Linked DNA regions of Homo sapiens: all the other regions are linked to region 3. The links are contacts of gene promoters, found by promoter capture Hi-C in blood cells and fetal thymus (Javierre and others, 2016). All regions are on one chromosome and are shown on one strand. Each heading gives the region's core, a stretch centred on a gene start or on the middle of the fragment in contact. The rest is flanking DNA. Distances are from core to core; before and after follow the strand shown. Region 1 overlaps THSD7A (thrombospondin type 1 domain containing 7A). Region 2 overlaps THSD7A (thrombospondin type 1 domain containing 7A). Region 3 holds the start of THSD7A (thrombospondin type 1 domain containing 7A). Region 4 overlaps THSD7A (thrombospondin type 1 domain containing 7A). Region 5 overlaps THSD7A (thrombospondin type 1 domain containing 7A). Region 6 overlaps THSD7A (thrombospondin type 1 domain containing 7A). Region 7 overlaps THSD7A (thrombospondin type 1 domain containing 7A).

Region 1 (3,361 bases), core at 618-3,117, 450 kb after region 3:
TTAATTTATGAATTGTCCTTGTAAGAAACTCAAAATACTGCTTTGTGTGTGTGTGTTTAATAATAACTTCAGTGTGGCCAATTAACTGCGATTGCCTTGCAATGACTAACTGCTTTTCTGTGACAATTTTTCTATGAGTATTTTGTGATTATAATATTGAGAGAAACACAGACAATTAGCAATAGGCGCCTGTGATTAAATTCCAGAGAATCATCAGTTCCATAAATAAAGAAAAAATTTTGTTTTGCTAAAATTCTGTTAAACTGAACAAGTATAGTTTGAAAATAGGAGCTTCCTTCACGTCACCAATGTTTTTTATGACATCTATTTCCATCTTAAAACCTCACTTGAGACAAATTAGGCACAGTTGGTACTACACTTGAAAATAAACGAGATAAACAGCTGTAATATCAAGTTAAAACCATAGTGCAAAACAAATGATTTCGTAGATACATTTGTTTTCTTCTCTATATCCAAAAAACACCATGAATTAGCAGAAATTGTGACTTTTCTGAAAAAGAAATATGCATTATTTAAAGAAAACATTTATTTAACATAAAGAGCTGAAGAGTTATTTCAAAGTACGTGAAAACTATTGTTTTGAATCTCCAAGAAAGAATTTTAACTTGAAATGAAATCAGCTTTTCAATTGCTGGACTTGGATTCATGTGCTCCTGACAGAAAAAGCTTGTGTGCAATTAGTATTTTCAAAATAGCAGCTATAAAATCATTCTTTCAACAAATGCTTGTTGAATACCTGCTGAGTACCAGGCACTGAGCTAGCTCCCCTGGGTAAAAAGGGCCTGGAGTCACTACATAAGGTGGTCAAGGTTAACCAAATATTTCACAGTCAACCACTGACAGAAAAATTCCTGGGATTCCCAAGGTGGTTCAAGATTCAAAGACAAGTCACTAACCACAGTGTATTTTCATCATAGCAAAATATATTATTTGTCAAAACATGATTTTCTGTTCCGCAGGGGGCTGCTTGGTGATGAGCCAGCCTGATGCCGACAGGTCTTGTAACCCACCGTGTAGTCAACCCCACTCGTACTGTAGCGAGGTATGTGAAAATTCATCAGGGCAGACAAGCCAGCTCCATCATGTGTCACCCCACTGTCTCTTATGCAGTTTATCTTCCTCCAAAGAAAGCATGTCTTGAGGCATAAAAATCCCATTTTAGACATCTCCTTTTATCAATCTAAAAAGTCCTGACTTCACTTGCTTTCACCTTTAGAATACATTTTCATATAATGCCAAAAGTATGTTTCTTTGTAGTTAAAAATAATAGAGGAATTATGTATAGTAATTCCCAAAACAAACCTTGTTTAAAGCCTTCTCTTCAAGTCAGGTCTGTTAGACTTCCAAAGATTCCTTGCATGGCTAGTATAAATCTTCTTGTTCTCCTGCAGACAAAAACATGCCATTGTGAAGAAGGGTACACTGAAGTCATGTCTTCTAACAGCACCCTTGAGCAATGCACACTTATCCCCGTGGTGGTATTACCCACCATGGAGGACAAAAGAGGAGATGTGAAAACCAGTCGGGCTGTACATCCAACCCAACCCTCCAGTAACCCAGCAGGACGGGGAAGGACCTGGTTTCTACAGCCATTTGGGCCAGGTGAACTGACTAGACTAGTGTTGAAAGAGAAACCTTTAGTTCTTTTAGGCAATGCCAAAGGATTAAAAAAGTGAGCAAAGCATTTTTATATGAGCTATTGATTATTTTATCTACATGCATTTATTCTGATAGTGCCATCTATTCTTCAATTTTTTACTATCATTATGGAAAATAACTCATGTTTGAAGTTCAGAGAAATGAAATTACATTCTTCTGAGAAAAAATTTTGGATCAATATAATTCAATTCAATTCCAGTCCAAAAATTACAAGTATAATTAATTTCAAATTGAACAAAGTTAGAAACATGAATTTTAAAAAATGTGTTGTCATTCAGAACTAGGATAAAGGAGACTATAAAGACATTCCAGAATTTTTCATTTGATCATAGGAACAGTAATAGTTTGACCCTTAAATAAAAACATCACTAATGCAGTTCTGTGCCAGGGCACACGTGGTAGCTAGACCAGTTTCTATTAGCCCTAAAAGTCAGCATACTCAAATACTTGGAATCTGTACTAGTGCCAGATAAACAGGGAGACAATGGAGCCTTCCCTTCTGGATAGGATGATCCAAATTTGTTTTCACATTCACAGACAGCTCTTAATGTATCTGGTAATAAATGCAAAGCCAATACAGGCAAATGCTTGAATACCTCATGATATGCTATTCTCTACTCTGCACACTTTCCCTCCTCAGTTGGATTTCATCATATGCTCATCCCTAGAACTAACCTGGTGCTTGAAAATGTGCTACATGGATTATAAAGCAGCTAATATGCCACTTTTTCTCACAACCTGGAAGAACTACTAGTCTATGAAGTAATCTCCAGGCAGAGCCAGGCATAGTCTACTTTAAAATGCCATTAGAAACATGAGAAAAGATGGAAGGAATCTGCATAGCTAGCACATCTCCATTTCTATGCATTAAGTCTGAATACTTTCCCTTATTGGAGAATAAATATTGGATTTTTAAGATATTTTAAGTGTTTGGGTGATTTGCTTTTAATCACATTATTCCTGCTTTAATTGGCTTATTTAGCTGATAGTATGATTTATTTTGCAAAGCTGACTTATCTGTGTAAGCATGGGAAACTCTTCCCTCAGTGTTTAAGACAATGGACTAGCAGACAACCAGTAGCAATTTTGACCTTCACTAAGAATTGAAGCAGATCTCCTCAGATCAAAACCAGTCCTTTTGAAAAAAAAAAGAATATTATTGTCATTATTTTAAATTTTATATATAGTTTCCCCAAAGTTAAAATTTTAAAATATTTAAAAGGTGCATGTTCTGAAAACTTAGATATTCTTTGATTTTGAAAAACCCCAAAAAACATTTGTTGAAGAAACTCTCAACAGAGATCCTCAATCGTGGAACAGCTCTTTTGATTCTAAACTGAGCTCAAATTTAAAAAATGAAAGCTTTAGGATTAGAAAGAAAGGATATTTAGAATATTAATTGAGTTTATTCCCAGCAAATGAACCTCTAACTTGATCTAACTCCGGGCAAAAAAATTCCACAGTACCAATTTCCATTTGATGCCTTTCAAATATTGAATAAACCAGAGTCTGTGTGAGGTCAATTTTGCCCAATCTATAATTTTAACACTAAGATCAAATATTTAATTGCAACAGAAAATATATGTTGATGTGAGGATCAAATTAAATTAGCCAATATCATTAATAACATCTTGTGCTTGAAGTTTATTCGGAGCATAGAACTGAGGAGTTCAAAGATGAG
Region 2 (3,328 bases), core at 17-2,516, 400 kb after region 3:
GAAATACATACATATGTCCATCAAAAGACACATTCTAGAATATTCATAGCAGCACTGTTAATAATGGCCCCATATTGAAAACTACCTAAATGCCCACCACCAATAGAATGAATAAACAAGTCATAGTATATTCACACAATAGAATGCTACACATCAACCAGAATAAACAATATTCAGCAATATGCACCAACGTAGATAAAACGCATATCACAATGTAGAGTGAAAAGGCTAGCACAAATGGATATAAACTATATGATTCGATTTACATGAAATTTTTAAAAAGTAAAACTATTCTACACAGTGAGTAGTCAGGATAGTTGTTGCTCTTGTAAGAAGGGGCAGTGGCTGCAAGGGAATACGGAGGAGAGTTCTGGACTATTGATTTCAGGGGTGTGTTCAGTGAAATTTACGTCTATGGAAAATGCACTTTTGCATATGAAGACTACAATACGAAGTTTAAAACAAATATCTTTGACAAATGTATAGGAGATACTACATAAAAAGATATGCCAGAAATCTATTTATCTTCCATTTTTTTTGGTTCTGTCTGTATCTTATAGTAGCACTTCCTAACTTAAGACCTACACAATCACACACACAAATGATTAAAAGTAAAGCTTGTGAAACCTGAGTAAGTGCTATGGATTGTATTAATGTCAATAACTTGAGGGTGGTAGAAGCTTATGTTTTTAACATGTGTCTCAGATAATTTATGATTAGGCAAGGCTAGGAAATACTGTATAGTAAATTAGTATTTTAACACTTTCAATACAGGACAGTTTGGGCACAATCTTATAGATTAAATTTGCCATTTTGGTTTAAAGGTGGTCTGACTTTCCTTTAATTAAAGAAATTAATGTTGGTAGGTTCTTTTTAAAATCCACCTACAATAAAAAGAATAAAATACTTAGGAATAAATATAACAAAATAAGTTCAAGACCTGTACACTGAAAACTACAAAACATCATTGAAAGAAATTAAAGATCTATATAAATGGAAATGAATTCCATGTGTCTGAATTAAGACGGCAGTGCTTCCAAGTTGATCAACAAATTTGACACAATTCCTATCAAAATCCTAGCTGCAATTTTTTGCAGAAATTGACAGTCTAATTCTAAAATGCATATAGAAGTTTGACTCAAAATAGCCAAACCTATCTTTAAAAGGAAAAACGAAATAGGAAGACTCACACTTCTGGATTTCAATACTTGCTTCAAAGTTACAGTAGTCAAGACTATGTGGTACTATCATGAAACTAGACATGGAGATAAATGGAATAGAATTTACAGTTCAAAAATAAATCGTTACACTGTGGTCAACTGATTTTCAACAAGGGTGCCACAACAATTAGGAAAGAACAGGTTTTTTCAACAACTGAAGACAGGATAACTCAATAACCACATGCAAAAGAATGAAGTTGGACCCCTACCTTTTATCATAAACAAAAATTCACTCAAAATGAAACATACACCTAAATATAAGAGCTAAAACTATTAAATTCTCTTGAGAAAACAACTATAAACCTAGATGACCTTGACTTTGGTAGTGGATTCCTAGATATAATACCAAAGCACTAACAACCAAGGAAAAAAGATAAACTGGACTTCATTGACATTTAAAACTTTTGTTCTTCAAACAACACCAAAATTTTAGAGACAATAACAAGTTTGACAAGAATTCATAGAAATTGGAACATGCGTGCATATCTGGTGGAGTATAAAGTGCTGCAGTCATTTTGGAAAACAGTTTGACACTTCCTGAAAAAGCTAAGTGAGTTACCACATAACTGAGCAATTTCACTGTAATGTATATATTCAAGGGAATTGAAAATGTATGCCCACACAGAAGCTTGTAAACAAATGTTCATAGCAGCATTATTCATGATAGACAAAAAGTGAAAACTCAAATGTCCATTAACTGATGAGTGGATAAACAATGTGAAATGTCCATACAATGAAATATTATTCAATCATAGAAAGGACTGAAGAACTGATACATGCTATAACATAAATGAACCTTGAAAACATTATACTAAGTGAAAGAAGCCAAGCCAGGCATGGTGGTTCACACCTGTAATCCCAATATTTTGGGAGGCCAAGGATCACTTGAGGCCAGAAGTTCCAGACCAACCTGAGCAACACCGTAACACCTCATCTCTATAAAATATATATATATATGAAAATTCGCCTGGCATGGTGGTGGGCACCCTTAGTCCCAGCTCAGCTACTTAAGAGGCTGAGGTAGGAGGATCTCTTGAGTGCAGGAGGTCAAGGCTGCAGTGAGCTATGATGACACCACTGCACTCCAGCCTGGGTGACAGAGTGAGACATCTCTAAAACAAAAAAGAAATAAGATCACATAATGTTTTACTTCATTTATATGAAATGTCTAGATTAGGCAAATTCATAGAGATAGAAAGTAGATTCATGGTTGTCAGGGGATGAGGAAGGGGAAAGTAGGAAGTGGCTGCCAGTAACCATAGGGTTTATTTTTGGAGTAAAACAAATGTTCTAAAATTAGATGGTGATGATGGTTGCACAACGCAGCAAACATACTGAAAACCAAAACATGGGGTTATTTTTATGGAATATGAATTATATCTCCATAAATTTTTAAAAATCTACCTAGAGTTGCCTAGTATCAATTGTTTACATTATAATCATTGTCAAAATCGAATCTCTGCTGTTGAGATAAAATGGCAAGGCAGAGTGTTTTCTTGTACCAAGAACACCTTCTCTCCACATTCAGACTATTATAGAGGACAACCGTGCGTTTCATTCTTGACTAGAGGAATTTTGCTGTTTTCACATGTTTGCCTTGAGAATAATAGTGTTTAATTGATATTGTGAAATGGCAAGTTTGTAGTTAAGAAGTATTGAAAGAAAATACTCCCATTTCCCAAAACAAATCTGTGCACTATTAATCGAATTGGTTGGATGATTTGATGGAATGAGTACTGGATTAGACCTCAGAAAACTTTTCCCTGTCTCTTACTGTGTAACCTTGGACTCAGTCAGTCATCGCTCTGCATTTGTTTTCTTACCTGCCTGTTAGAATGTCAATACTTGCACAATTCATACATAAGATTTTCAAGAGAATCAAATGGATATAAGATGTGAAGATGCTCTGAAAGTGACAGCATGTAAAACATGAGACATTACTTAACATCCTGCATTTTTCTTCAGACTTGATTTTCAAAGAAGGAGAAACGCAAGATGCTAAGTTAAATGGTTCCTTTTGGGTATTGAGTGAAAGGGACTGGGATTTCTTAAGAAAGAACGTTGCATGGACTCAGAACCCTGAACTTGTGTGACATTAACAGATAGGG
Region 3 (3,214 bases), core at 251-2,750:
TTAATTCCTTCTTAGAGGCCTAACAGAGCGGAAAGTAAACAAAGACCAAATTTGCAACCTTCAACGTAGCTAATTTCCTCTGATGTCAGAATACTTAAACAGGCAGGACCTGGGAATTATTTGATCAAACCCGCTTTTAATCTAATGCATGCAGAGGGGCTGTGTCTGGAAGGCTTTGCAAAATGACAAGGGTCCCAAGGGAGCCTTATGGAAGGTTTCCTCTTTCAGAAAGAGTAGCTTCCTCATCTTAAACTCTAGGGTAGCTATGTTGGAGTAAATTCATAAAAAGTAGTTTTCCTGCTTTTAAAATTTTATTTTATTTGGCTGAAAATTGCTGATGGGATAGTAGTTTTCTTTGGCTTTCCGTTTGCTGAATTTTTAATGGTTAAATGCCTACTATTTTAGCTTTACTGTGAAATGAATTAATAATAAAATATATTATTATTAGCTAAAGGGAGAAGGAGAAAGGGGAAAGCATTATCCGACTTCACACACATTCTTCTATTACTACTGGTAGAAGAAAGTGAAAACACAAAGGACAAAAGATGCAAACACATGTGGTTCCTTATTTAGATTGCGACAGGCATTTTGCTACAGTAAGAGTTAAGAAAAATCGGTGTCAGGGAAATTTTAAATGAAGAATTTACTAATTCCAAGATATCCAGACAGCATTACTGACTCAGTTTGACTCACAACTATCTGAATACTTAGAAGTAGCATATTTTTGAGGGAAAGAAGTAGATGAAGGGACAGAACTCTATACCTGAAATATAATTTTAATTTTAAGGGTTTTTTTTTTGTACAATTGTATTTATGTAATTAGGTAGCATTGCAAATACTCATTAACACTAATTCAGTTTTAAAGGCTATTAAAAGACAATTTAATTTGTCACAGAGCATCAATATTGCTCATATTTTTATTGATAATAGATTAAGTTAAAAACAACATTTAAAGAAGGGTTTAAGTGCATTTTGACAAGTCAACATTTCTGCTCTCGTGTTTTCACACCTGATCTCAAATACTGCTCCCCACACAAAGTAATTCAGAAGCCATGGCTTAAAAATAGATAATAAACACTGATGCTTTGTGTAAATACGTACTAAGAATAGCATGCCACTAGATCTAGCATTTGACTCCTTGGATGACAGTGAATATCAATGCCTGTTATTTGTCATTCTGAAATCTGCCGGGTGATGATTCTTTTTATTGGTGCATCCTTCCAAACATATTTCATCGCACCATGTGCACCGGAGTTCTTTAGGCGGGTATGTCGGAGGTGGGTGTCGCCTGGCTGGCCCCTCTCCCCTTTGCTCGCCCCCTTTCTCGCCCTCGCGCTCTCGCCTCCCTCTGCCTCCAGCCCCCTCTGCTCCTTTGGGCTCACGCCCCCCTCCTCCCCCTCCAGCTGGCGGGGGCTGCGCTGCCTCCCAGACCTAGCAGACCTGCTCAGTCAGCTGGGGCCCCCTGAGGACAGTTGCCTCCGGAGCCGCCGGGACCTGCCATTCTGCGAGGAATGGCAGCGGCAGCAGCATCCCCGCCAGAGGCGGCGGCGGCGGCGGCAGCGGCCACGGCCACCACCGCGGACGCTATTGTTCCCTGGTGTTAGACGCGCTCTCCCTCCTTCTCATCTGAAGCGAACAATAGCAGGAAAGAGCTTTGCTTTCTGTACTCTTTGAAAAGACGTTCCAAGAGCGGAGAAAAATTCCCTGCCGAGCGTGCTACGGCTCTGGACCCTGGAGTGGCTGCAGGCGGCATGGGGCTGCAAGCCAGGCGCTGGGCGTCCGGGAGCCGGGGCGCTGCGGGGCCGCGCCGGGGCGTCCTGCAGCTGCTGCCGCTGCCGCTGCCGCTGCCGCTGCTCCTGCTGCTGCTGCTACGCCCGGGCGCCGGCAGGGCTGCGGCGCAGGGCGAGGCGGAGGCGCCCACCCTCTATCTGTGGAAGACTGGTAAGTGGGACGGAGTTACCCTTTCCCCATCTTCACATCTGGGGCCACATTAAGGAGCTGGTGGGCTTCTGTAGGGACCCCGGTGCTTTTGGATGGCTTGGTTATGCTGGTATCCTAAGGTAAAAAGTATGATTTCTTAGGAAGCAAATAGGTCATGTCCGATGCAATTAGGAAAGAAAAGCATAACAACTAAGAGGCAACAGTGAGTAGCTGGAATATTTCTCTCGCAGCTCTGTAATGAGGGCAACGCGCACTTCCATGATGAAGTGCATTATTTTTAACCCCTGGATTTTCATTCTACTAGGAGTTTCTCAAACAGATTTCTAGCAAAGAACAAGCAAAGAGTTTAGTCTCAGTCTTTATTCTTTAGGCAAAGCAATATGCTCACTGTCATGACATTTGTGGATATAGAGTTGAATTTGTTAACTTTAGCTTTGTGATATGTGGGACACCTCAGAAACAAGCCAAGTGAGGGCGGTTCCAACAATTAAAGGCAAATGGGGCTCCAGTGAGCCTTCAGGGAAAGACTGAAAACTCAATTATTAACTAGCGAGTCGGAGGATTTTTAAAGTGTACAACTTTTAGGATGTCTGGGTTCAAACTTTCTCTTCCTTCCTTGAGAATTGTTTTGCTTTGTTTTTCAACCACCCAACAAAAGCAGCTACTAACTGCCCATCATTACCCATTGGCAAAATGCTTGGAGTTTCTGGCGGGGGCCGTGACAGGCAGGAAAACAATACGGAGTGAGGAATTACCAACCCCTTTTCTGCGGGTTCGCTTTCTCTCTGCATTAAAAAAACATTGAGAATTCCTTAGGGGACCTGAAACTTCACATGTTCATAGGAATAAAATGGGAAAAGATTATTCCTGTTGCTTAGAGCTAGGGGGTAATTTAAGAATAACTTGGTCATGCCAAACATTAAGAGAATGTTGTAGTTGAAAGGGAAAGTATGTATTCGTCATGGGGTTGCAAACAGGTTTCAGGGAGTGAGTGTCTTTTCCTGCTTCAGCCCATCTCTGCACCACTACTGAAGAGACAGCTCAGTCTACTCTACAATTGCATCACTATCGATATCTGGAATTTTTAAAGAAGTTGCAGCTATCCAGAAATTTAGTGAGGAGATTAAACAGAAATTTATTTAAAGTCAAAGTACACAATTTGTCTTAGAAGATTACATGAAACATATACACATTTTAAAAAGCAAGATTATTCTTGCTAACACCTTAAGTTTGAAGATCAGTTGAGTAATGAATTCAAATGAAATAAAATTAA
Region 4 (3,088 bases), core at 210-2,709, 320 kb after region 3:
TTTCTTCTTTTATCTGATTCTCTTGTGCTTATTTTTTACTTCATAGCCTTACTTTGTTATACTTAGTGTATCTATTTTTAATGATATTCCCTGTTTCAGGAGGGCAAACCTTTTTTTTTTAACTCTTTAAAAATGTAGTTTTGTGATTTTTTAAAAATAATGATATGGGGGCCGGGCATGGTGGCTCACGCCTGTAATCCCAGCACTTTGGGAGGCCGAGGTGGGCGGATCACGAGGTCAGGAGTTCAAGACCAGCCTGGCCAACATAGTGAAACCCCGTCTCTACTAAAAATACAAAAATTTAGCTGGGCATGGTGGTGGGCACCTGTAATCCCAACTACTCTGGAGGCTGAGGCAGGAGAATGGCATGAACCCGGGAGGTGGAGGATGCAGTGAGCCAAGATTGTGCCACTGAACTCTAGCCCAGGCAAAGGTGAGAGACTTGATCTCTAAAATAAAATAAAATAATGATATGGAAGTATTTATATGTTCTCTTGCTTAAACAATTGGACCTATGAATGTGACAGATGGCAATGCGTATTACATATACAATTATTTTGATAGGAAAAATACTATTATTTTCTCTTTTATTTCATTGCATCATGTAAAGGCTCTGTCTACATGACCATGACTGCAATTCTGGTAGGCGATGGCAATATAGTGATGTATATGTCCTTTTCTTACCAAAAATACTAATGGCATTACATGACAATTGGTGCCATATCCCTGAATTCAAGCTCATTATTTAATACACCTGGTGCCTCCTATGAAATTATTAAATATATCCTTATTTTCAAATAACATTTTATATTTAATCCTTTAAAATGCAATTTAAATTCAGCTTTTCTGTAAAGGATAGTTTTATGGAGATTTATATTGTTAGCAAATAGCAAATTTTTTCTTAAAGAGAAAGCTTTACAGATAAGAATTTAAAGCCAAAATGTTATTGACAGAATTTCACACTGAAGATGGATGTTGGCATTGACTGCTGTACAAACAAGGTCATCTCTGCACACAGGCAAGGTCAATGGGCTTTTGGAAGCTTCCTTTTATAGGAAGATGGGGATGAGGCACTATAATATAGCCATGAAGTACACTTCAGTAATTTTTCTTCTGGCAGAGCTAGCTGATCAGTAGTAGGTCATCTAGAATCGTGAATGAGTTCTCACCAAATCATTCCTCGGGTACACGGACATTAGCTTAATCAATAACCATACTTATCTTGTATTCTGCCTTGTTTCAAAAATGGGTCAATGCATTAGTTTAAAATTTCTGATTTTGTAAGTGCATTTTAAGTATTTATGTATGTATTTTATGAGGGCAATTTAGCTTTTGGGTTTGAACCTATTTGCAGTAAGTTCAGTAAATTAACTACATAAGTATTATACTTTATTACAGGTTTTATTTATTACAGCCAGAATACAACTTAAAATAAAGATGCACACAAATAATAGCTCCTAGAAATCTCAAATTTAGAAAGGAAAACGGAAAAATCACTTTTAAAAATGATCACAACCAAAAGTTCTCATATTTATATAGTTTAAACATGTTTCATTCACTATTTATTCATTCACAGTATACTTTAAATCATGATTGATAGTGCTACTTGAAATATTTTGACAGGCTTTTAACTGAGTTTGGGCAGTCACAGTTATGAAGTCACAACTCACTTAGCCAAAGCAGTACTCCTTGTTTCTTCTCAGTAACTTGTGAGCTTATATCCCTGGATAGTAAGATACAACCAAGATATTATGTATGTAAATCATTGCCATAGATGTACTAAAAAGACTACTAAAATATGAAATGTGAAGTCTAGGTCTTGTTCTGCCACTTACTATAAAACATGGGCTGTCTTTTCTCCCCATCACAAGCTTGGTTTATTTATCTCTAAAAATATATATATAAAAGATCTCTGTAGCTTTAATTTTCTATGACAATAGCTGTGTGTTTGGTAATAAATCTAGCTAGATGCAATGAGTTATTTTCATAATCAGTAGATGATGAGTTAAATTTTTATATTATATAAATAGATCATAATTAATTGTTGATATTGTGCTTATTTATGGCACTATGGATTATTAAATTATCTGCCTTGTGCATTTACAGAGTCTTCTTTCAGCCAAAAGGTAGGTTTGCTGTCTGAAGTCAAGTTGAACATTGTCAAAAGCCAGAGTTAAATAACAAGTAGAAAAGTGGGATAAATTCACCATCATCATCTCTTACAGTTGTTCCATAGCAAACTTGTTGAAGCTGTGAATATTCAGTTAAAGTATCACAGACCTAGCAAGTAACATTAATATTCTGAGAGGCTAATAAAGGTTGATACAGAGTCTAATGAATAAATTTTATTGTTTGAACAGGAACTAAAATCATAGTGAAATGTTTCCATTTTTAGATGAAAGCATGTATTTTAATTGTTTTTGATAGGATGGGCTCAGATGTGATTTCCCATTAGTTACATGTAAAATTTATTTCTAAAGTTAATATTTGCATAAAATCATTTATCACTTATGCCACTCAAAGCAAAAGAAGACGGATTCAAATGAGTATAAATTTGAAACAACAAGTGATCTTCTGAACAGAAAGATCCATCTTCTTAGGTTAGAAATGGAGTAACAGAAGGCACTGTCACTGAAGGTGGAGCACCCCTACAAATATTAGTGGTTCTTAGTTTTGGAGCTTTCGTGCAGTCATAGTAAAATGTTTCTATGTTCTTCCAAAGAATAGAGTAATAATCTTGAAAGGAGAAAGCAAGTACAGTCATTTATTTTTAATTAAGCAACTAATAAAGTAAGCACACGTAGTATTGTTTAATATTACTGAATAATTATACTGCTAACCTGTTGAAAAATTTTGTGAAATATTTGATGCATGTTAAAGATTGCATGCAATATTATATATCATAAATCTTAAAGACAAAAAACACTTATTTAAAATGTTATCCAATTAAATAAATAGAAAATATATAGAAATTTACTCATAAAATTGAAACTCCTAGACCCCTCATGATCTCCTCCTTCTCTTTTCTCCTCAAGCCCTCTCCAGAGTGAATCTCTAAATGAATTTTGTGTTTATCATGATGGCTTTG
Region 5 (3,066 bases), core at 477-2,976, 430 kb after region 3:
TTAAAGGTGCATCACTTTGTATCTCTTCAAGGAAAAATGATCCGAAGACGAACAGTGACCCAGCCCTTTCAAGGTGATGGAAGACCATGCCCTTCCCTGATGGACCAGTCCAAACCCTGCCCAGTGAAGCCTTGTTATCGGTGGCAATATGGCCAGTGGTCTCCATGCCAAGTGCAGGTATCAAATCTCAAGAAGTTGTCAGGAAGTGTGTACTCTATCTGCAGAGACTTCATCTGCAGAAAAACATAAAAATAATGTGTTAGAAATATGTTTCAGAGCTCACAGATGACAAGCTTCTTAAAATTTGTATGTACTTGCCATTTTATAACCATTTAATTAGTTTTGATAACAAAAACTCCATGCCCTATATTTTTAAAATCATTTGGAGACTGATTCATTTTAATGAAAATTTATTTTCCTGTCTTTAGCTAGGAAACAAATTGTTCAATGTATGCTTTATTGCTAGTGCCCTATAGGGCTTCTTCCCTAGGGTTTCAAATCCTTCTCTAAATGTTCATAAATCAAAGTCAGTGGTGCAGAGATAACTAAGTGATGAGCTCTCTAATGAAGTATTTCTCTTTTTCTAATTAGTTATTTCTTCCTCCATTCCAGGAGGCCCAGTGTGGAGAAGGGACCAGAACAAGGAACATTTCTTGTGTAGTAAGTGATGGGTCAGCTGATGATTTCAGCAAAGTGGTGGATGAGGAATTCTGTGCTGACATTGAACTCATTATAGATGGTAATAAAAATATGGTTCTGGAGGAATCCTGCAGCCAGCCTTGCCCAGGTAACAACGGCAAAGGAGAATTCATATTCTGATTATTTTTTCCTAGGACAAGGGCCGTGAAGGGGTTGCATATAAAGTATAAGTTACAGGATGTCAACAGTCTTCTTATTCAGTAATATCTATGCCAACAGCTCAACACTATGCCTGTGGGGAACGGGACGCTGTCTCATTACTGCCAGGTAGGGTTGAAGTCCAGGTCTCCCATGTGGCCTCTCAACACCCTCTGGAGTTTTAACATCTGCAGGAGATGGTATTTAAGGCCTTAAGCCCATGCTCCACAGAAAAGTTATGAAATAAAAGATGAGAAAATAAGGACAAAACATAACCTATTCGGGATTTCCAGAAGAGAGAAAGAGAGGCCAATGTTTAAATACATAATGGCTAAAAACAGATTAAGTCCTCATAATAACAGCTTACCCTGGGTCCAGGGTAGAATGAACAACAAACTCATACCTAGATAAATGTAGTCAAAACATAAAATATAGAAAAATAATTAGTAAAGTCTTCAGTAAGAAAATAACAGATTATCTACAACTGGAAGACAAAATAGCAGTATGGAGGAAACTATTGAAAGATATTATTCAGATTCAGTGTTAGACACAATGAGTGCATGCAGTAAAAGTAGAAAGAAAATTTTGTTTATCAAATAGTATGGAAAAAATGGCAGACAGTGATAAGCTAATATTTATGAATTTGGGCTTGATGCAGAGAATTGTAGAGGAAATTTAATGTCAAAATATGCCAGAAAACCCATCCTTGAACAAGGTATAGATAGGGGCAACAATTTATTAGTGGACTGGAAATGAACAGATTGAAAATGAATTACCTGTATTTTATCCCCAAGTGGAAAATTTGTATTCTCCCAATTTGCTTATAATTATGATTTAAAGATTGCATCTCTTTCACAATATTTTCTTTTGAATGTGACCTCAAAATATTAAAAATTAAGGATTTGGCAAAAATAATGGGGCATAAAACACATTTTCTATATAAAAGGATGTGATTTAAGAAAATTTTAAAAGTGGATAACATATATCAACAAAAATTTGTAAATGGGATTGAGTCCCTAAAACCTGGAAAAACTGACATGGGCTAGCTATTTATTCACTCATCGAGTTACTTATTCCTTCGTAAAAAAAAAAAAAAATCATTTGAGATGATAAAAATGGTAGGGTATAGTTTAAGATGAACTGAATGAAATTGAACAGTAAATAAAATAACCCTGATAGGGGTTATTTTGAGGACAAGCCCCCTAGACTCTGAAAATATCCAACTATTGTATTGATCTTTGCACACATGGATATTTTCATCTACTTCAGGTCAAGAACTAAACTATTTTTAAAAACCAAAAATCTGAATAGCAGCTCCTTCTCAATGAGTGTAAAGGTTCAGCTATGCAAGGTGAATAAGTTCTAGAGATCCGTTCTAAGACATAGTGCCTGTAGTTAACAATACTGTATTGTATACCTAAAAATGTGTTAAGTGGGTAGATCTCATGTTAAATGGTCTTATCACAATAAAAAATAAAATAGAATAAAATAAAATTTAAAAATAAAGTAAAAGAAAAGAAAATCTGACTTTCTAAAGCCAGGCAAAGTGTTGCTGCCAACAACCTTTTGCTGAGCCAGCAATTCCCCTTTCACTTCCTGCTGCTGAAACTAGTCTGATATCATTTAAGATCTCACACACAATTCAATAAAATCATTTTGCTTCACTGCAGACCCAGCCTAAGGCTGTGGCAGCAGGTGACAGCTCCAGGCAGGGCCAAGGACTGAACCTTTGGACCTTGATGTACTGAATGGCCATAGAGGCAACAAAAAGTGACCCTTGGCTAAAAGTTGTAAGGCCTACTTTTCCAAAACCAAATCTCCAGCACCAGTAATAGGATTGTTGTGACATTCACACCATTGAGCAGAACGGGCATCCTTGTCAGACTGTGGTATATGCCTTACTATGGACACTCCTCACATGATTTCATTATACTTTCTGCAGCACACACACTCACTCATTTGACTGTTACTTATCAAATGTAATTACAGGTCAAGCCCTGGACTTGAGGCCAGAGATACAGTGCAGACCAAGAGACCCTGTCCTTGTACAGCTTACTTTCTAATGGAAAGAACAATTGCTAATCTAATAGTGACAATAATATATAATATATAAGATTATAACCTGTGGTAAATGATGTGAAGGAAAATTACAGGATCCCATGATAACATAGAGCAAACACATTGTTTTAATTAAAGTAATTGCAAATCTAGGAGGCTGCTCTTCTCTTC
Region 6 (3,384 bases), core at 253-2,752, 380 kb after region 3:
GTTTGCCAGAACCCTTCCTGTACCTTGAATACTCAAGCTGGTGGGTCTCAAACTTGAATCTGCGTAAGGATCACCTGAGCATCTTGAAAAAAATGCATATTCCTGACCCCATAGCAGGTATCTCATTATCTGGATTGGTCCAGATTATGGAACTCTTTTTGGGTCCAGGGATCTTCATGTTTAATAGCATTCTAGGTGTTTCTGATGCAGGTGAAAATATATTACCTACTAGAGCAGTAGTTCTCATATAGCTTGGATAATTAAATCATCAGAAAGCTTAAAAAGTATCCTAAATCCCAGGACCCCAACCTCAACCAGGGAAATCAGAGCATTAGAGTTTAGTAAGGGCATAGGTATTTTCCAAAGGTTATCCAGGGGATTATAATCTGCAGCCAGACATGAGAACCACCATCTTAGACTGCTATGATTAAACAGAGTACCAGATGTGTCCTCCCTCAAGGGGGTAGATTCTCTTTGAGACACTTAATGTTTTTTATTTGTTTCTGTCATCTAACCTTCATCAAGGCCAACACTGTTCACCCTACCAGGATTTTCATATTTTTAAAAATTTAGGGGCCCCTGTTCTTTTCTTACAAACTGGCCCTTCCAAAGTCAAGTCATGTGTACTAAATGAAAAGCACATCTAAAGCTAAGAAATAGGGAAGTGCATCCACAATTGAACAATTTAGAAGGGCCTTTTATGTTAGGCCTGAAGCAGTTGCATTAAGTTGTGTTCAACTACACAGAGAAAATCTTGCCTTGCTAAAATTGCTAGTTATGTCCATTTACACACTCTATTACAAAGCCCTGCACTCCTAGGCAATAGGTTTTAGTACACAGATCCAGACGGTGTTGTCTAACCTGAGGCCCTCTATGCCCTCACTGTAATTTAAGGTCAAAAACGTCAGGCTCCTTCACCTCGATTTCATGGTGATGGAATCCTGAACAGGGCAGAGATCAGCGGCAGTTTCAGCCTAGACCATAAACCTGAAAAAGCCAAGTAAATCAATCTGAATGAGGCCATTTAAGATAATTCAGTGAAGCCAACTTTAGGACCAAGGTTTAATGTTTCATCTGCTTCCTCAATAAGTGAGTTGTTTTTAAAACCAATGGAAAGGAAATGGCATAGGGAGAAAGTGGGCTTTAAACATGCTTGCTCTTTTTCTTTAAGACTTGTTACCATAAAACACTCATATGTATATGTTCAATAGGTAAAAATATTATTTCTCATTTTAAGTCAGCAGAACAATATCATAGGCGAAATAATTTTTATGAATTTAAACTTTGATTTTTTAAATTTATATGTAATTTTAGAACTACAAATTTTAACATAATAAATGAAGATTATTGAAAATTTTTAAGTGCCAGGTTGATGTTTGTGCATGTGAAGAACTTGTAGAAAGAGGAGATGGAGGACTTTGACATTGCTTATCCATTAATGATTCCAACCCTTCCTAATAAACTTGAAATGTAATACAGTGAACATACTTCCCATGCCAATGCAGTTTCAAGATAAGTTCTATAAGCACACCTTCCTGACCCCAAACTCCAACCTACCAACCAGCTTTCTGCCACTAAAACACTTCTATAAAGGAATTCTAGGGTGTCCAATGATATAAAACAATATTAGATATACCTAGTATCTTCCAGTCCCTCTCCAAACACCCTATGCTCAACATAAGCTATTATCAGAACCCACGTATGGTTTGTCTTACATTCTTACAAATTTATTTCTAAATATACCCTACATGTGACATGAATTGAAACCCTGAATACATATAATTAAAACTGGTAAATGCTAAGTATGCATATGTGTCCACTTTTCTGTGCCACAAAAATCACTCAGGGTTGTGTGTTATTTTTAAAAATAACCAATTTAATGGCTACTGGGATTATTAGAAACACTCCTATAAGATTTCTACTGTAAGTAAGGAACTACAAGAGGCTTTCTCTGACTGCTTAACCAAATGTTAGGTTAGCTTCTAAATTATAGAGTAATTAGACGTTTGAATTTGTTATAACAGCTTTATGCTTTTCTTTTAGCCATTACTTGTCGCAAGCAAGATGGAGGACAGGCTGGAATCCATGAGTGCCTACAGTATGCAGGCCCTGTGCCAGCCCTTACCCAGGCCTGCCAGATCCCCTGCCAGGATGACTGTCAATTGACCAGCTGGTCCAAGTTTTCTTCATGCAATGGAGACTGTGGTGCAGTTAGGACCAGAAAGCGCACTCTTGTTGGTAAGAATAATTGGGATGCCAAAGCCAGTACACGTCAAAGTAGAGGAACATAATACAAGTCAGACTGAGAGAATTCTGACAGTGTATTTGAAAAATAATATGCCAATGGATTTAGATGTATATTTTAAATTTAGCTGGCAGTGATAAAAGCATTATGTACTTTTAGTAAAAAGAAAAGGAAGGCTTGAAAATTGAACTCTGACTCCCTATATAATATGCAGTGGATTATTTTCTGGTGTAGACATAATCTTTTAGTGGACTGCCTGCAGACTGTAAAGTGCTTGGAGCAAAGTTTTTGGGGAACAAGAGAAAAAGTTGCTACTTTGTTAACCCATTCTCACTGTCAGAGCCTCAGATTATCCTTTCTCACCTAGAAGGGGGAATATAGCATTAATTCTGTATCTGAAAATTGTATTTTAAACCATAGTAATGACTAACAGCATGAATATAATGAGCAGGATTAGGATCCATCACTCTGAACTAAAGCTTGGTGCATTTGAAATATTGCCAATGGCAAAAGCAACCTAAAAATATTGGTGCTAGTAGAGTACTCAGAATTTAAGTTAAAAAATGAACCACCTATGTAATGAAGACTGTCGAAACTATATAACACAGCCTATGAAGGTGAGAGATAAATATATACTTATCTGTAGTATAATTAAAAAGTATGTGAAAAATAGTGTTCTGAAAAAATAATACAAATTTTACTATGCAAAGCACCCAATACCAACAGGAGCCTATGTAGAAAACACTGTGGAATGAGAAAATAGCATTGATTTATAGGCTACTGTTAAATATGGTTAAAAATGAAGAAAAAGAAATTAGGAAAGCAGAAAATTTAGGGATGTGTGAAATTAATGATGGTATTTTCCAACTTAAATTGCCTGATTGTTTCTCTTCCACAGGAAAAAGTAAAAAGAAGGAAAAATGTAAAAATTCCCATTTGTATCCCCTGATTGAGACTCAGTATTGTCCTTGTGACAAATATAATGCACAACCTGTGGGGAACTGGTCAGACTGTATTTTACCAGAGGGAAAAGTGGAAGTGTTGCTGGGAATGAAAGTACAAGGAGACATCAAGGAATGCGGACAAGGATATCGTTACCAAGCAATGGCATGCTACGATCAAAATGGCAGGCTTGTGGA
Region 7 (3,323 bases), core at 12-2,511, 280 kb after region 3:
TTCAGCAAATTAATTGAAGATGTAAAAAAGAACCAAGTAGAAACTGCAGATCTGAAAAATGCAATAACAGATATAAAAACTCTGTATACGGGTCTAACAGCATAATGGAGGGGAGAGAGGAAAGAATCAAAGAACTAAAATACAGAATAATCAAAATTACCTAATCCGAACAACACAGAAAAAAATATGAGGGAAGAAAACTAAAAGTATTTCAGAGACCTGTGGGACTGTAACAAAAGATCTAACATTCATGTCATTGGAATTCCAGAAGAAGAGGAGAAAGAGGGCAGAGCTTAAAAGAAAAAAAATGTATTCAGAGAAATAATGGCTGAACACTTCTCATATGTTGTAAGAAGCATAAACCTACAGATTCAAGAAGCTGGATGAATTCCAAATAAGTTAAACCTGAAGAAATACATGCCAAGACATATTATAATAAAAATCTGAAAACGAAAGATAAAAGTATTTGAAAGCATCCAGAGAAAATTGATAACCTTACTACAAGAAAAAGAAATTTGAGTGACAGTGAACCAGAAACCATATAGGTCAGAATAAAGTACTACCATATTTTTCAAGTGCTAGAGGAAAAGAACTGTCAACTTGCAATTCAATACTCAGAGAAAATATCTTTCAAGAATGAAGGAAAAATAATGACATTCTTAATGAAGGAAAACTAAGAGAAGTTGTTACCAGTAGACTTACCCTAAAAGAATAGCTAAAGAAAGTTCACTAAATAAAAACGAAAGATTAAAGGAAGAAACCTTGGAATATCAGGAAAGGAGAAAGAGCGGGTAAACAAAGTATAGCTAAATACAATAGGCTTTTCTTCACTTGAGTTTTCTAAATTATATTTGACAGTTGAAACAAAAATTATAACACTGCTACCTGATATGATTCTAAAAATACGTAGACGATATATTTAAAACAATTTATTACAAATGAGGGAGGGTAAGATTTCTATACTTTAGTTGAACTAGCAAAATGAAAATATCAGTAGGCTGTGATAAGATATATATATATAGTATATCTTGTATATATATGTACATATATACACATATACACATACACACCCATATATATGACATATATATGTAATGTAATATCTACAGCAAACACTAAAAGAGCTATAGAAGGACATGCACTCAAAAACACTGTAGATAAATCAAAATGGTATTCTAAAATGTGTTAACTCACAGGAAGACAGGGAAAATGAAACAGAAATGAATAAATAAAAATAAATAGAAGACTTAGTCCATAACATATAAATAACTACATTAAATGTAAATAGTCTAAGTATACTAATTAAAACACAGATTGGTAGAGCAGATTTAAGAAGCAGGACCCAACTATTCACATTCTACAAGAAACTCACTTCAAATATAATGTTATATGCAGGTTTAAAGTAAAATAATGAGAAACTGTGTGTCATGAAAATGTTATTCAATGGAAGCAGGAGTGGCTATGATAACATCGAATAAATTAGGCATCAAAGCAAAGAAAATTACCAGAGACAGAGAAAGATATTATATAATTATATAATGACAAAAGAGTCAATCCACCAAGAAGGCAAAGGAATTCTATGTGTTTGTGCCAAACAACAGACTGCAAAATATATGAACAAAAACTGATAGAACTGAAAGGAGAAATAGACAAAACTGTAATTGACAAATAGATAATTGTAGTTGGAAATGACAATACCTTACTCCCAACACTTCATAGAATAATTAGGACGAAAATCAGCAAAAATACGGAAGAACTCAGTACCATCAACCAATAAAATCTAAAAGGGATTATTATAATTACTCCATCCAACAACAGCAGAATTCACCTTCTTTCAAGTGAAACATATACCAAAATAGACCATGTCATCATCCATAAAACATAGTTCAACAAATGTAAAATAATTTATAGAGTGTTCTCTGAGCACAATGGAATCAAATTAGAATTCAATCAAAAAAGATAGGAGTAAAATCTCCAAACACTTGGAAAACAACACACTTCTAAACAATCAATGTGTGAAAGAGGAATTCTCAAGGAAAATCAAAATACTGGATGAAAAGAAAATATATCAAAATCTGTGAGGCATAGCTAAAGCAGTGCTGAGATAGACATTTGTAACACCAAATGCTTACATTGGAAAAGAGGATAAGACACAAATCAATAATCAAAGCTCCCATCTAGAGAACCAAGAAAAATGGGAGTGAAATGAGTTGAAAGCAAGAAGGAAAGAAGTAAATAATAAACATAAGAACAGAAATCAATGAAATTGAAAATAAAAAATAGAGAAAAACCAATAAAACAAACAGCTGGTTCATTCAATAGATCATTAAACCTCTAGCAAGGGTGATAAAAGAAAAAAGAAAAAACACAAATCACCAACACCAGGAATGAAATAGGGAAATGTCACTACACACTTTACAGACATCAAAAGGATAGCCATGGAATACCTCAGACAACCTGATACACATAAATTTGACAACTTAGACTACATGGGAAGAATAAAAAAATCAAAATAAATTGCAACCTACCACAACTCATCTAATATGAAATAGAGCATTTCTACACAGAAAAAAAGAGGCAACAAAGGCACTGACAGTTCACCAAAAAGAAAAATACAGACCAAAATGCCTCATACATAGACAAAAATCCCTAACAGATATTAGCAAGTAGAATTCAGCAATATATAAAAATAATTAAAATATAAGACCAAATGCAGTTTATTCAAGGATGCAAGCCTACTCCAATATTAAAAAGTTAGTCAATGTAATTCACCAATTTAACAGACTAAAAACATAATCAATACAGCAAAAGCTATTTAACAAAATTTAGCATCCATTCATAATAAACTCTCAGAAAAAAATAGGAATAGAGAAGAACATCCTCATCTTAATAACACCTAGGAAAACCTATAGCTAACATTATACTTAATGGTAAAAGACTGAATGCTTGTTCCCTAACACTGGAACAAATGGTCTACTGGCAATCCTTGGTGTTCCTTGGCTTGTAGCTGCATCATTCCAAACTCTGTCTTCGTTAAGCATGGTACTTCTCTGTATGCCTTCACATGGCCTTCTCATAAGGACACCACCCATTGGATTTAGGGCTCACCTTAATCCGGTAAGACCTCATCAACTAATTACGTTTGCAAAGGCCTTATTTCTGAATAAGGATATATTCTGAGATTCTGGTAGACATTAAGTTTGCAGGAACACTATACAACCAAAGTACATTGATTGTAATAATATCAATATTCTGGCTGTAATATTGTACTATGTTTATACAATCTTGCCTATGGGAGAAACTGGATAAAGTATATGTAGAAG

Evidence for each region. Contacts are between HindIII fragments. The CHiCAGO score rates a contact against its expected background, and 5 or more counts as called.
Region 1: a fragment that was not itself captured here is called in contact with the fragment with the promoter of THSD7A in region 3 in 1 of 17 cell types (endothelial precursors); the score reaches 7.6 in endothelial precursors.
Region 2: a fragment that was not itself captured here is called in contact with the fragment with the promoter of THSD7A in region 3 in 6 of 17 cell types (endothelial precursors, megakaryocytes, erythroblasts and 3 more); the score reaches 23.0 in endothelial precursors.
Region 4: a contact is called between a fragment that was not itself captured here and the fragment with the promoter of THSD7A in region 3, in 1 of 17 cell types (endothelial precursors). The highest score is 6.9, in endothelial precursors.
Region 5: a contact is called between a fragment that was not itself captured here and the fragment with the promoter of THSD7A in region 3, in 3 of 17 cell types (endothelial precursors, M2 macrophages and M1 macrophages). The highest score is 6.7, in endothelial precursors.
Region 6: a fragment that was not itself captured here is called in contact with the fragment with the promoter of THSD7A in region 3 in 1 of 17 cell types (endothelial precursors); the score reaches 9.2 in endothelial precursors.
Region 7: a fragment that was not itself captured here is called in contact with the fragment with the promoter of THSD7A in region 3 in 1 of 17 cell types (endothelial precursors); the score reaches 5.6 in endothelial precursors.

Annotation. Positions count from the first base shown.
Region 1 is chr7:11,377,332-11,380,692 of GRCh38, reverse strand. THSD7A (thrombospondin type 1 domain containing 7A) reads left to right here. Exons shown (of 28, transcript NM_015204.3): 25 at 981-1,063; 26 at 1,413-1,623. Among named protein-coding and RNA genes, the nearest start is that of PHF14, 410 kb to the right of the region's middle. The HindIII fragment of the contact is 2,355 bases long and covers 690-3,044 here.
Region 2 is chr7:11,429,487-11,432,814 of GRCh38, reverse strand. All of the region lies in intron 13 of THSD7A (thrombospondin type 1 domain containing 7A), which reads left to right. Among named protein-coding and RNA genes, the nearest start is that of THSD7A, 400 kb to the left of the region's middle. The HindIII fragment of the contact is 1,168 bases long and covers 683-1,850 here.
Region 3 is chr7:11,830,484-11,833,697 of GRCh38, reverse strand. THSD7A (thrombospondin type 1 domain containing 7A) reads left to right here and starts at 1,500. Exons shown (of 28, transcript NM_015204.3): 1 at 1,500-1,941. The coding sequence starts at 1,752. RefSeq lists enhancers at 823-1,362, 1,363-1,903. The HindIII fragment of the contact is 6,451 bases long and covers 1-3,214 here.
Region 4 is chr7:11,514,459-11,517,546 of GRCh38, reverse strand. The region is part of intron 6 of THSD7A (thrombospondin type 1 domain containing 7A); the gene reads left to right. Among named protein-coding and RNA genes, the nearest start is that of THSD7A, 320 kb to the left of the region's middle. The HindIII fragment of the contact is 829 bases long and covers 1,045-1,873 here.
Region 5 is chr7:11,404,021-11,407,086 of GRCh38, reverse strand. It overlaps THSD7A (thrombospondin type 1 domain containing 7A), which reads left to right. Exons shown (of 28, transcript NM_015204.3): 21 at 32-177; 22 at 613-787. Among named protein-coding and RNA genes, the nearest start is that of THSD7A, 430 kb to the left of the region's middle. The HindIII fragment of the contact is 2,861 bases long and covers 296-3,066 here.
Region 6 is chr7:11,446,084-11,449,467 of GRCh38, reverse strand. THSD7A (thrombospondin type 1 domain containing 7A) reads left to right here. Exons shown (of 28, transcript NM_015204.3): 12 at 2,044-2,238; 13 at 3,144-3,384. Among named protein-coding and RNA genes, the nearest start is that of THSD7A, 380 kb to the left of the region's middle. The HindIII fragment of the contact is 2,448 bases long and covers 279-2,726 here.
Region 7 is chr7:11,554,028-11,557,350 of GRCh38, reverse strand. The region is part of intron 4 of THSD7A (thrombospondin type 1 domain containing 7A); the gene reads left to right. Among named protein-coding and RNA genes, the nearest start is that of THSD7A, 280 kb to the left of the region's middle. The HindIII fragment of the contact is 5,711 bases long and covers 1-3,323 here.